2 separate regions of the Homo sapiens genome follow, and region 1 is linked to region 2. Evidence: promoter capture Hi-C in 16 types of primary human blood cells and fetal thymus (Javierre and others, 2016). All regions are on one chromosome and are shown on one strand. Each heading gives the region's core, a stretch centred on a gene start or on the middle of the fragment in contact. The rest is flanking DNA. Distances are from core to core; before and after follow the strand shown. Region 1 has its middle 19 kb from the start of LARP1. Region 2 holds the start of FAXDC2 (fatty acid hydroxylase domain containing 2).

Region 1 (4,637 bases), core at 1,818-4,317, 120 kb after region 2:
CTGGGATTACAGGCATGTGCTGCCAAACCTGGCTAATTTTTGTGTTTTTAGTAGAGACAAGGTTTCGCCATGTTGGCCAGGCTGGTCTCGAACTCCTGACCTCAGGCGATCCACCCACCTCTCAGCCTCCCAAAGTTACAGGCATGAGCCACCGCACCTGGCTTTGCTGTTTCTTCTGAGGGTCCAGATTAAGATGTTGGCTGGCATGTAGGGCTCAGGTTGTGAGAAAAGGAATGTACAGCTAGCTCTACAATAAGGTGATATTCAGTGTGGTGAGATGCACCTCTGGGATCCAAGACTGCTTAGGGAATGGCAGCAAACAGTATCCCACACACGCATGGTTTACCTACTGTGTCTGTGTCCATCAGATCGTGGAGCTGAGGGCGTGTGACTTAGATGTGTCTGTGCTGTGCTTCTGACCCATTCTGTTTGTCTTAGGGAGGCCCACAGAACCTAAGGGGCCTCCCATTGTCCCTTAGGTTCCTGGAGGAGGTTAACTGAGGGCCCGGAGATGAAGACAAGATCTGAGAGTTCTCCAGACCCAGCAGTGTGAGTGAAGCAAGGGGAATGTTCAGGGACTATGAAGGGGAGGGCTGAGGAGGGGTGGTTAGAGCAGAGCTGGAAAGCTGGAACAATGAGGATAGCTCATTCACAAGGAGGGGCAGGGGCGGGGAACCGGGAATATCAGAGGAGATCAAAGAGAGAGAGAGACTTGGCAGAAGCTTGGGGAAGAGAGTTTTGAGGAGAAAACAAGTACCAAGGGTTGACCTGCTGCAGCATTACAGAACTAATCACTGTCTTTCAAATTAGGAGTTCGAGACCAGTCGGACCAACAAGGTGAAATCCCGTCTCTACTAAAAATACAAAAAAATTAGCCGGCGTGGTGGCATGTGCCTGTAGTCCCAGCTACTCGGGAGACTGAGACAGGAGAATTGCTTGAACCCGGGAGGCGGAGGTTGCAGTGAGCTGAGATCTCACCGCTGCACTCCAGCCTGGGTGACGAAGCAAGACTCCATCTCAAAAAAAAAAAAAAAAAAAAAAAGAGAAAAATTCCATGCTTCTAGATTACCAAAAAGGAAGTTTAGTTCCTTTGAGTACTTTAAACATTCCCCCTAGAATTGCATTAAAACAACACATTGGCCAGGCACGGTGGCTCACACCTGTAATCCCAGCACTTTGGGAGGCCAAGGCAAGCAGATCACTTGAGGTCAGGAGTTTGAGACCATCCTGGCCAACATGGTGAAACCCCGTCTCTACTAAAAATACAAAAATTAGCACGGTGTGGTGGTGCACGCCTGTAATCCCAGCTACTTGGGAAGCTGAGGGAGGAAAATCACTTGAACCTGGGAGGCAGAGGTTGCAGTGAGCTGAGATTGTGCCATTGCACTCCAGCCTGGGTGATAGAGGGAGACTCTGTCTTGAAAAACCAAAAAAACAACACATTTATTCACCTCACACACATTAGGATGGCTACTATCAAAACAAACCAGAAAATAACAAGAGTTAGCAAGGATGTGTAGAAACTGGAAGCTTTGTGTACTGTTGGTGGAAATGTAAAATGGTGCAGCCACCATGGAAAACCATATGGAAGTTCCTCAGAAAATTAAAAATAGGGCCAGGGATGGTGGCTCACATCTGTAATCCCAGCACTTTGGGAGGCTGAGGCGGGCTGATCACATGAGGACAGGAGTTTGAAACCAGCCTGGCCAACATGGTAAAACCCTGTCTCTACTAAAAATACAAAAATTAGCCAGACGTGATGGCACATACCTGTAATCCCAGCTACTCAGCAGTCTAAGGGAGAAAAATCACTTGAACCCAGGAGGCAGAGGTTGCAGTGAGGCAAGATCATGCTACTGCACTCCAGCTTGGGCAACAGAGTGAGACTCTGTCTAAAATAAATAAATAAATAAATAAATAAATAAATAAATAAATAAATAAAAATAGGCCAGGCAGGGTGTGGCTCAAGCTTGTAATCTAAGCACTTTGGGAGGCCAAAGTAGGAGGATCCCTTGAGGCCAGGAGTTGGAGACCAGCCTCAGCAACATAGTGAGACCCCATTTCTACAAAAAATTTAAAAACTTGCTGGGCACAGTGGCTCATGCCTGTAATCCCAGCACTTTGGGAGGCTGAGGGAGGTGGATTACCTGATATCAGGCACTCGAGACCAGCCTGGCCAACATAGTGAAACCCCGTGTCCACTAAAACTACAAAAATTAGCCAGGTGTGGTGGCACACGCCTGTAATCCCAGCTACTCGGGAGGCTGAAGCAGGAGAATCACTTGAACTGGGAGGTAGAGGTTACAGTGAGCCGAGATCACGCCATTGCACTCCAGCTTGGGCAACAAAAGCAAGACTCCATCTCAAAAAAAAAAAAAGAAAATTAAAAAACTTAGCTGGGTATGGTGGCGAACACCTGTAGTCCCAGCTACTTGAGAGGCTGAGGCAGAAGGATCACTTAAGCCCAAGAATTAAAGGCTGCAGTGAGCTAAGATGGTGCCACTGCACTCTTGCCTGGGTAGACAGAGTGATGACTCCCATTTCTAGAAATAATAATAAAGTCAAAAAATGTAAAACTTTTTAAAATAATTAAAAATGGAACTACCTTGGCCAGGTGCAGTGCCTCATGCCTGTAATCCCAGCACTTTAGGAGGCCAAGGCGGGCAGATCACCTGAGGTCAGGAGTTTGAGACCAGCCTGGCCAACATGGCGAAACCTGTCTCTACTAAAAATACAAAAAAAATTAGCTGGGCATGGTGGCACGTGCCTGTAATCCCAGCTACTCAGGAGGCTGAGGCAGGAGAATTGCTTGAACCTTGGAGGTGGAGGTTTCAATGAGCCGAGATCACGCCACTACAATCCAGCCTGGACAACAAGAGCGAAACTCCATCTCAGAAAAAATAAATAAATAAATAAATAAATAAATAAATAAAAATAAAAATAAAAATGGAACTACCATATGATCCAGCAATCCCACTTCTGTGTGTATATCCAAAAGATTTGAAAGCAGGGTCTCTTTTTTTTTTGAGACAGAGTCTCGCTCTGTCACCCAGGCTTGGAGGAGAGTGGTGCGATCTCAGCTCACTGCAACCTCCGCCTCCCAGGTTCAAGCAGTTCTACTGCCTTAGTCTCCCGAGTAGCTGGGATTACAGGCACCCATCACGCCTGGCTAATGTTTGTATTTTTAGTAGAGACGGGGTTTCACCATGTTGGCCAGGCTGGTCTTGAACTCCTGACCTCAGGTGACCTGCCCGCCTTGGCCTCCCAAAGTGCTGGGATAACAGGCATGAGCCACCACGTTTGACCTGAAAGCAGGGTCCTAAAGAGCCACTTGTACACCTATGTTCATAGCAGTACTATTCACAATAGCTAAGAGATGGAAACAACCCAAATGTCTATTGATGGATACACGGACAAGCAAAATGTGGTATATATTATATATACCATGGAATATTATTCAGCTTTAAAAAGGAAGGAAATCATGTTATATGTTGCAACATGAATGAAACTTGAAGACATTATGCTAAATGAAATAAGCCAGTCACAAAACAACAAATACTGTATGATGCCACTTATATGAGATATCTAAAGTCAGCAAATTCATAGAAACAGAAAGTGGAATGCTGGTTACCAGGGCCTGGAGGGAGCGGGAAAAGGGAAGTTGTTTTTTAATGGGTGCAGAGTTTCAGTTTAGCAAGATAAAAAAGTTCTGGAAATCTGTTTCCAACAACGTGAATATACTTAACGCTACTGAATGTACACTTAAAGATGGTTAACATGGTAAATTTTATGTATCTCTTACCAGAAAAGGAATTTTTTTAATTAAAAAAACCCAAAACCAAAACAATACATTTGCCTGTATACGCCCCCTTTACTCACTGAAAAACAGCTGGTTTCAAAACAGCCTGTTCAGTGTGATACTATTTTTGTCAAATGTCCTTTTCTATTCTAATATATGTAAATTATTATCATTAGGACATAAACCAAAAGATTACCAGTGGTTATTTCTGAGTGCTGATTTTGTCCCTTTTGCTAATCTGTACTCTGTAACTTTTTTTAGGGAACATTTTGTTACTTATTAAAACAATTAAAATTCATCCTATTTCAGCCTCTGTCTTGATGTCCACAAAACTGACATAAGTTGACTTCATGTTTTTGAAGCTTTATTTTGTATATAATTTGAAATCAATGCTAATAATTAATCTCAATATAATAATAGTAATACTTCCTATGTAGTGCAAGATACTTGTGCTCGTCATGAATTATCTCACATATTAACCTTTTGAGGTAGGTACTATTTTTTTTTTTTTTGAGAGGGAGTTTCACTTTTGTTGCCCAGGCTGGAGTACAATAGCGTGATCTCGGCTCACTGCAACCTCTGCCTCCCAGGTTCAAGTGATTCTCCTGCCTCAGCCTCCCAAGAAGCTGGGATTACAGGCATGTGCCACCATGCCTGGCTAATTTTTTATATTTTTAGTAGAGACAGGGTTTCACCATGTTAGCCAGGATGGTCTCGATCTCCCGAACTCAGGTGATCCACCCGCCTCCGCCTCCCAAAGTGCTGAGTTAGGTACTATTATTAAAACTCTTTCTACAGACAAAAAAATAGAGGTTATGGCCAGGCACGGTGGCTCACA
Region 2 (4,930 bases), core at 64-2,563:
CTGCACCCGGCATTTTTTATTTTGTTTTGTTTTTTAGAGACAGGGTCCCACTCTGTCACTCAGGTTGGAGTGCAGGGCACAATCATAGCTCACTGCAGCCTCCAACTCCTGGGCTCAAGCCATCCTCCCACCTCAGCCTCCCCAGTAGCTGGGATAACAGACATGTGCCAGTAAGCTCTACTAATTTTTTGTATATGTAGTAGAAATGGGGTTTTGCTACATTGCCCAGGCTGGTCTTGAACTCCTGGCCTCAAGTGATCCTCCCGTCTTGGTCTTCCAAAGTGCTGAGATTATACATGTGAGCCGCCGTGCCCAGCCAAGTTTCTGAGTTTTGTTTATTTTAGAAAGGAGTCTTCCTGTGCTGCCCAGGCTGGTCTCAAATACCTGGGCTCAAGTGATCCTCCAACCTCAGCCTCCCAAATAGTTGGGACTACAGGTGAGCACCACCATGCCTAGCCAATCTCCATGTTTGATTGTTAAGTGGAAAAAGCAAGGTGCACAACAAACATACTATGGTGCTGTTGCTAAAGGAGAAGCACAAGGCCTACACATGTTTCTATTTACAGAGGTAAGCTCTGGAAGGATATACAAAAATCTGGTCACAGAGGTTGTCTCTTGGGAGGAAAAAAAGGGGACTGAGGAGAAATTAAAAAAAGACTTTTCATTGTACATTCTTTTGACCCTATTGTATTTTATATCATTTGCACATTTGCTTATTTAAAAAGTTTTCAGAAATTTAAAAGCAGCTCTTTTTCCAAAGTGCTCCTCACTTCATGTCATGGGTCCTGTATCCTAAGTTCCCCTATTTCAATCACAGTGCAAATTTACCCTCCACAGGCATGCCTTTCCTGCATCTAGACTCACTAGAAATAGCTGATGCATCTCTCCTCCCTTGCCTGCCCTCCACAGGAAAAGAAGCAATGAAAAAAAAGAAAATGAGATCCTCTGGTCTCTGTCACCTTTTTATCAACTTGTACTACCTGCCATTATCTGACACCCACATCTTTTCTTGAATCTGCCTCCTCCTATGGGACAGCGACATTTTCTTAAGTTGCAGATGATGGAGAAAATTTTTTAAAAGAAAAAAAGGGGGCAGGGGGAGGGAAGCCCAGAGTTTGGCCAAATGCACGTTTTTCAAGTTCCTGCTTGAGCTTAGATTCCCTTTCCGCTTTAAGGACATGCCCTCTGGAAAGAAGGGTGTTTTGTTTCCAGCCCACACAGACCCAAACTTTTTTCATCACGTGCCTGGTCCGAGCCAGTACGCAGCTCTGTAATGAGATCACCATGGCCAGCCTCCCACCCGAGCAAAAACAAGGTTAGCCTGCAGCAGAGCCGCAGCAGCAACAGCCACCAAAGCGGGGGCTGAAAGGGAAGAGAACTTAGATTTGACCTGTGCAAGGACCTCAGCAGCTTGGACACAGCCCACTGCAGAGGTAAGTGGGAACTACGGGGGAGGGGTGGTGTTTGCAAAGGTCAGGACATGTCCAGGTTCACTTAAAGTAAGGGCAAAACAACACTCTTCCCACCTCTGCCACCACCCTGTCCTCTCTACTTATGGCAGGGTTAGATTTGCCTCTAAACAGGGTTAGATGGCAGGGTTAGAATTTGTCCTAGGACATTGCTGTAGTGCAGTCGCCTCCTTGTCTCTTACTAATGTCTGTATCCTCTGCCTGTGTTTGTACCATCTACCTCCTCAGTAGTCTAATTTTTCTAGCAATTGACAGGTGATTGTAATGGACAAGTAATTGTTTGACTTTAAAACCATTTGTAAAGGAGCAACTCCTAATTCAGAACTCAAATGAGAGGCAGAACAAACTGGAAGAGACTGTTGGGAAGCAACTGCTGCCTAATTGCTTCTCATCTCTACTCTGCCATCACCAGGAAGGTATGGGGCAAAATACAACAGTTTTAAAGTCTCTGGATAGATGTGTGGGCTATGAGCTAGACAAGTAGGTTGAAACTGTTTTGATGCAACATACTTGGATTTACCAACAGTGGCTCCAGTTGTGAAATCGTTAGTGGCTTGATAGTACCTATGGAAACACTCCACGAAGGTTATTGAGTAAAGGGCATACAGTAAAGTGTGTAGGTGGAGATGAACAATAGAACAGTGGCTTTCAGGACCTTCTGGGGCTTAAGGCAAGCAAGACAAGATGCTGATTTGTGGGTTGCTTCAGTTTCATGTGCAATTCCAATTAAATTTCTTTGAGTGGGATATACAGATTCAATTCAATTTGCTAAAACACAGATGCACTGAGCATCAGCTTCTAACTTTAGTTACGAAAGTAATTAGCACAAGGGAATGGTGCTAAAATGTTCCATAGCAAATGTTGAACACTTTTTGAGGGCAAAAAGCAATGCTTTTGATTCGTGTATCTCTTATTTATTCGGCAAATCTTTCTTGAGTATCTTCTACATGCCAGGCTTGGGCTTGATTCTGTGGATCTCGTGGTAAACAAGACAGGCAGATTCTCGGCCTCATGGACATGCAATCAAGCAGAACAGTAAGCTCAAAGGGTGCAAGTACCATGCAGCAAAAGGAGTGAAGAGAGTATTACTAAAACTGGCCCATGGGAATCATTTTTAACCTTTCCTTTCATGCATTTCATCTTCTGTTTTTGTTTTTTTTGTTTTTTGAGATGGAATCTCGTTCTGTCACCCAGGCTGGAGTACAGTGGCGCGATTTCAGCTCACTGCAACCTCCACCTCCTGGGTTCAAGAGATTCTCCTGCCTCAGCCCCCCAAGTAGCTGGGATTACAGGTGCCCGCCACCACACCCAGCTAATTTTCGTATTTTTAGTAGAGATGGGGTTTCACCATGTTGGCCAGGCTGGTCTCCAACTCCTGACCTCAGGTGATCTACCCACCTCGGCCTCCCAAAGTTATGAGATTACAGGCATAAGCCAACGTGCCCAGCCGCATTTCATCTTTGTTTTTTTTTGTTTTTTTGAGACAGACTCTTGCTCTGGCGCCCAGGCTGGAGTGCAGTGGCATGATCTTGGCTCACTGCAACCTCCGCCTCCCAGGTTCAAGCGATTCTCCTGTCTCAGCCTCCAGAGCAGCTGGGATTACAGGCGTGCACCACCACACCCGGCTAATTTTTATATTTTTAGTAGAGACGGAGTTTCGCCATGTTGGCCAGGCTGGTCTCAAACTCCTGACCTCAGGTGATCTGCCCACCTCGGCCTCCCAAAGTGCTGGGATTACAGATGCGAGCCACCGCTCCTGGCCGCATTTCATCTTCTTAAATGAATATCGGCCACTCTATCTTCTATATAAGCCTCAGATTAGTACAGATGTTGAGTCATAGCAGCTCCTCAAAACCCTCTTCACCAGAGGCTTTAAACTGTGTAATTACATTACAGGTCAGTCTCCTCAGCCCTGGAGGTCGACTGCTCAGCTTTTTCCTAGCATACAGTCTGAGAGCAGAGGCTGAAGTAAGGGGAGTTCTAATCTTTGGGTCAGTTGCCCTCTCCCTGTGTCATTTCTTATGAAATAGAAGTTATGCTATTCCCAAAATACATACAGCACTAGGCAAAGTGTTAAGAAGCCTAGATTTTGCCAGAAACCATGTGGAGTTTGGAGCAAGTCATTTCTACTAACTAGGGCTTCCTCCTTAGCTTATAAAATGGAAGGGGTAGACCAGATGAACATGAGGTCTTTTTTCTCCCCCCTCTAAGAGTAAATTGTCTCAACAATTTTACAAGTTGTTTACAAAACAATACACATTCACATAAAGGTGATGTATTTATATCTATAAAATAGGAACATTCAGTAGGCCGGGCATGGTGGCTCACGCCTGTAATCCCAGCACATTGGGAGGCCGAGGCGGGCGGATCACAAGGTCAGAAGATCAAGACCATCCTGGCTAACATGGTGAAACCCTGTCTCTACTAAAAATACAAAAAATTAGCCAGGCGTGGTGGCAGGCACCTGTGGTCCCAGCTACTCGGGAGGCTGAGGCAGGAGAATGGCATGAACCCGGGAGATGGAGCTTGCAGTGAGCCAAGATCGCGCCACTGCACTCCAGCCTGGGTGACAGAGCAAGACTCTGTCTCAAAAAAAAAAGGAACATTCATCAATCATGCAGAATATCCAGGAAACAAGAATATGAAAGAAAATCTGGGCCAGGCGCAGTGGCTCATGCCTGTAATTCCAGCACTTTGGGAGGCCAAGGTGGGTGTATCACCTGAGGTCAGGAGTTCAAGACCAGCCTGGCCAACATGGTGAAACCCCGTCTCTACTAAAAATAAAAAAATTAGCCAGGCATGGTGGGGGTGGGTGCCTGTAATCCCAGCTACTTAGGAGGCTGAGGCAGGAGAATCGCTTGAACCCGGGAGGCAGAGGCTGCAGTGAGCCAAGGTCATGCCATTGCACTCCAGCCTGCGCAACATGAGCGAGACTCCATCTCAAAAAAAAAAAAAAAAAGAAAGAAAGAAAGAAAAAAGAAAATCTGAAAGAGTTGGGCTGTAGACAAATAAAATTCAAGATTAAACCGTCTGTATTCCTTCCAGCCTCACCTTATTCCCATGTCCTTTACTCAGATTCTTGAAGTTGTAAACATTAGCTATAGCTTCACTGTGTCATTTATCTAGATTGGGGATTCTTTAATAAAAAGCCTGCATACTGAGAATCATCTGCTTTCAACAAAACCACATAGGCAGGGCAGAGTGGCTCATGCCTGGAATCCCAGCACTTTGGGAGACCAAGATCACTTAAGCCCAGGAGTCCAAGACCAGCTTGGGCAACATAGGGAGACCCCATGTTTACAAAAATTTTTTAAAAATTCGCCGGCATGGTGGCACAGACCTGTAGTCCCAGTTACTCAGGGGACTGAGGTGGGAGGATCACCTGAGCATAGAAGATTGAGGCTGCAGTGAGCTATGATTGAGCCATTGTACTTCAGTCTCGGCAACAGAGCAAGATGCTA

Evidence for each region. Contacts are between HindIII fragments. The CHiCAGO score rates a contact against its expected background, and 5 or more counts as called.
Region 1: a contact is called between a fragment that was not itself captured here and the fragment with the promoter of FAXDC2 in region 2, in 6 of 17 cell types (neutrophils, total CD4 T cells, fetal thymus and 3 more). The highest score is 6.5, in neutrophils.

Annotation. Positions count from the first base shown.
Region 1 is chr5:154,733,842-154,738,478 of GRCh38, reverse strand. It overlaps a transcript of LARP1 not described here. Among named protein-coding and RNA genes, the nearest start is that of LARP1, 19 kb to the left of the region's middle. The HindIII fragment of the contact is 2,192 bases long and covers 1,972-4,163 here.
Region 2 is chr5:154,846,986-154,851,915 of GRCh38, reverse strand. It overlaps FAXDC2 (fatty acid hydroxylase domain containing 2), which reads left to right and starts at 1,313. Exons shown (of 9, transcript NM_032385.5): 1 at 1,313-1,433. The HindIII fragment of the contact is 21,500 bases long and covers 1-4,930 here.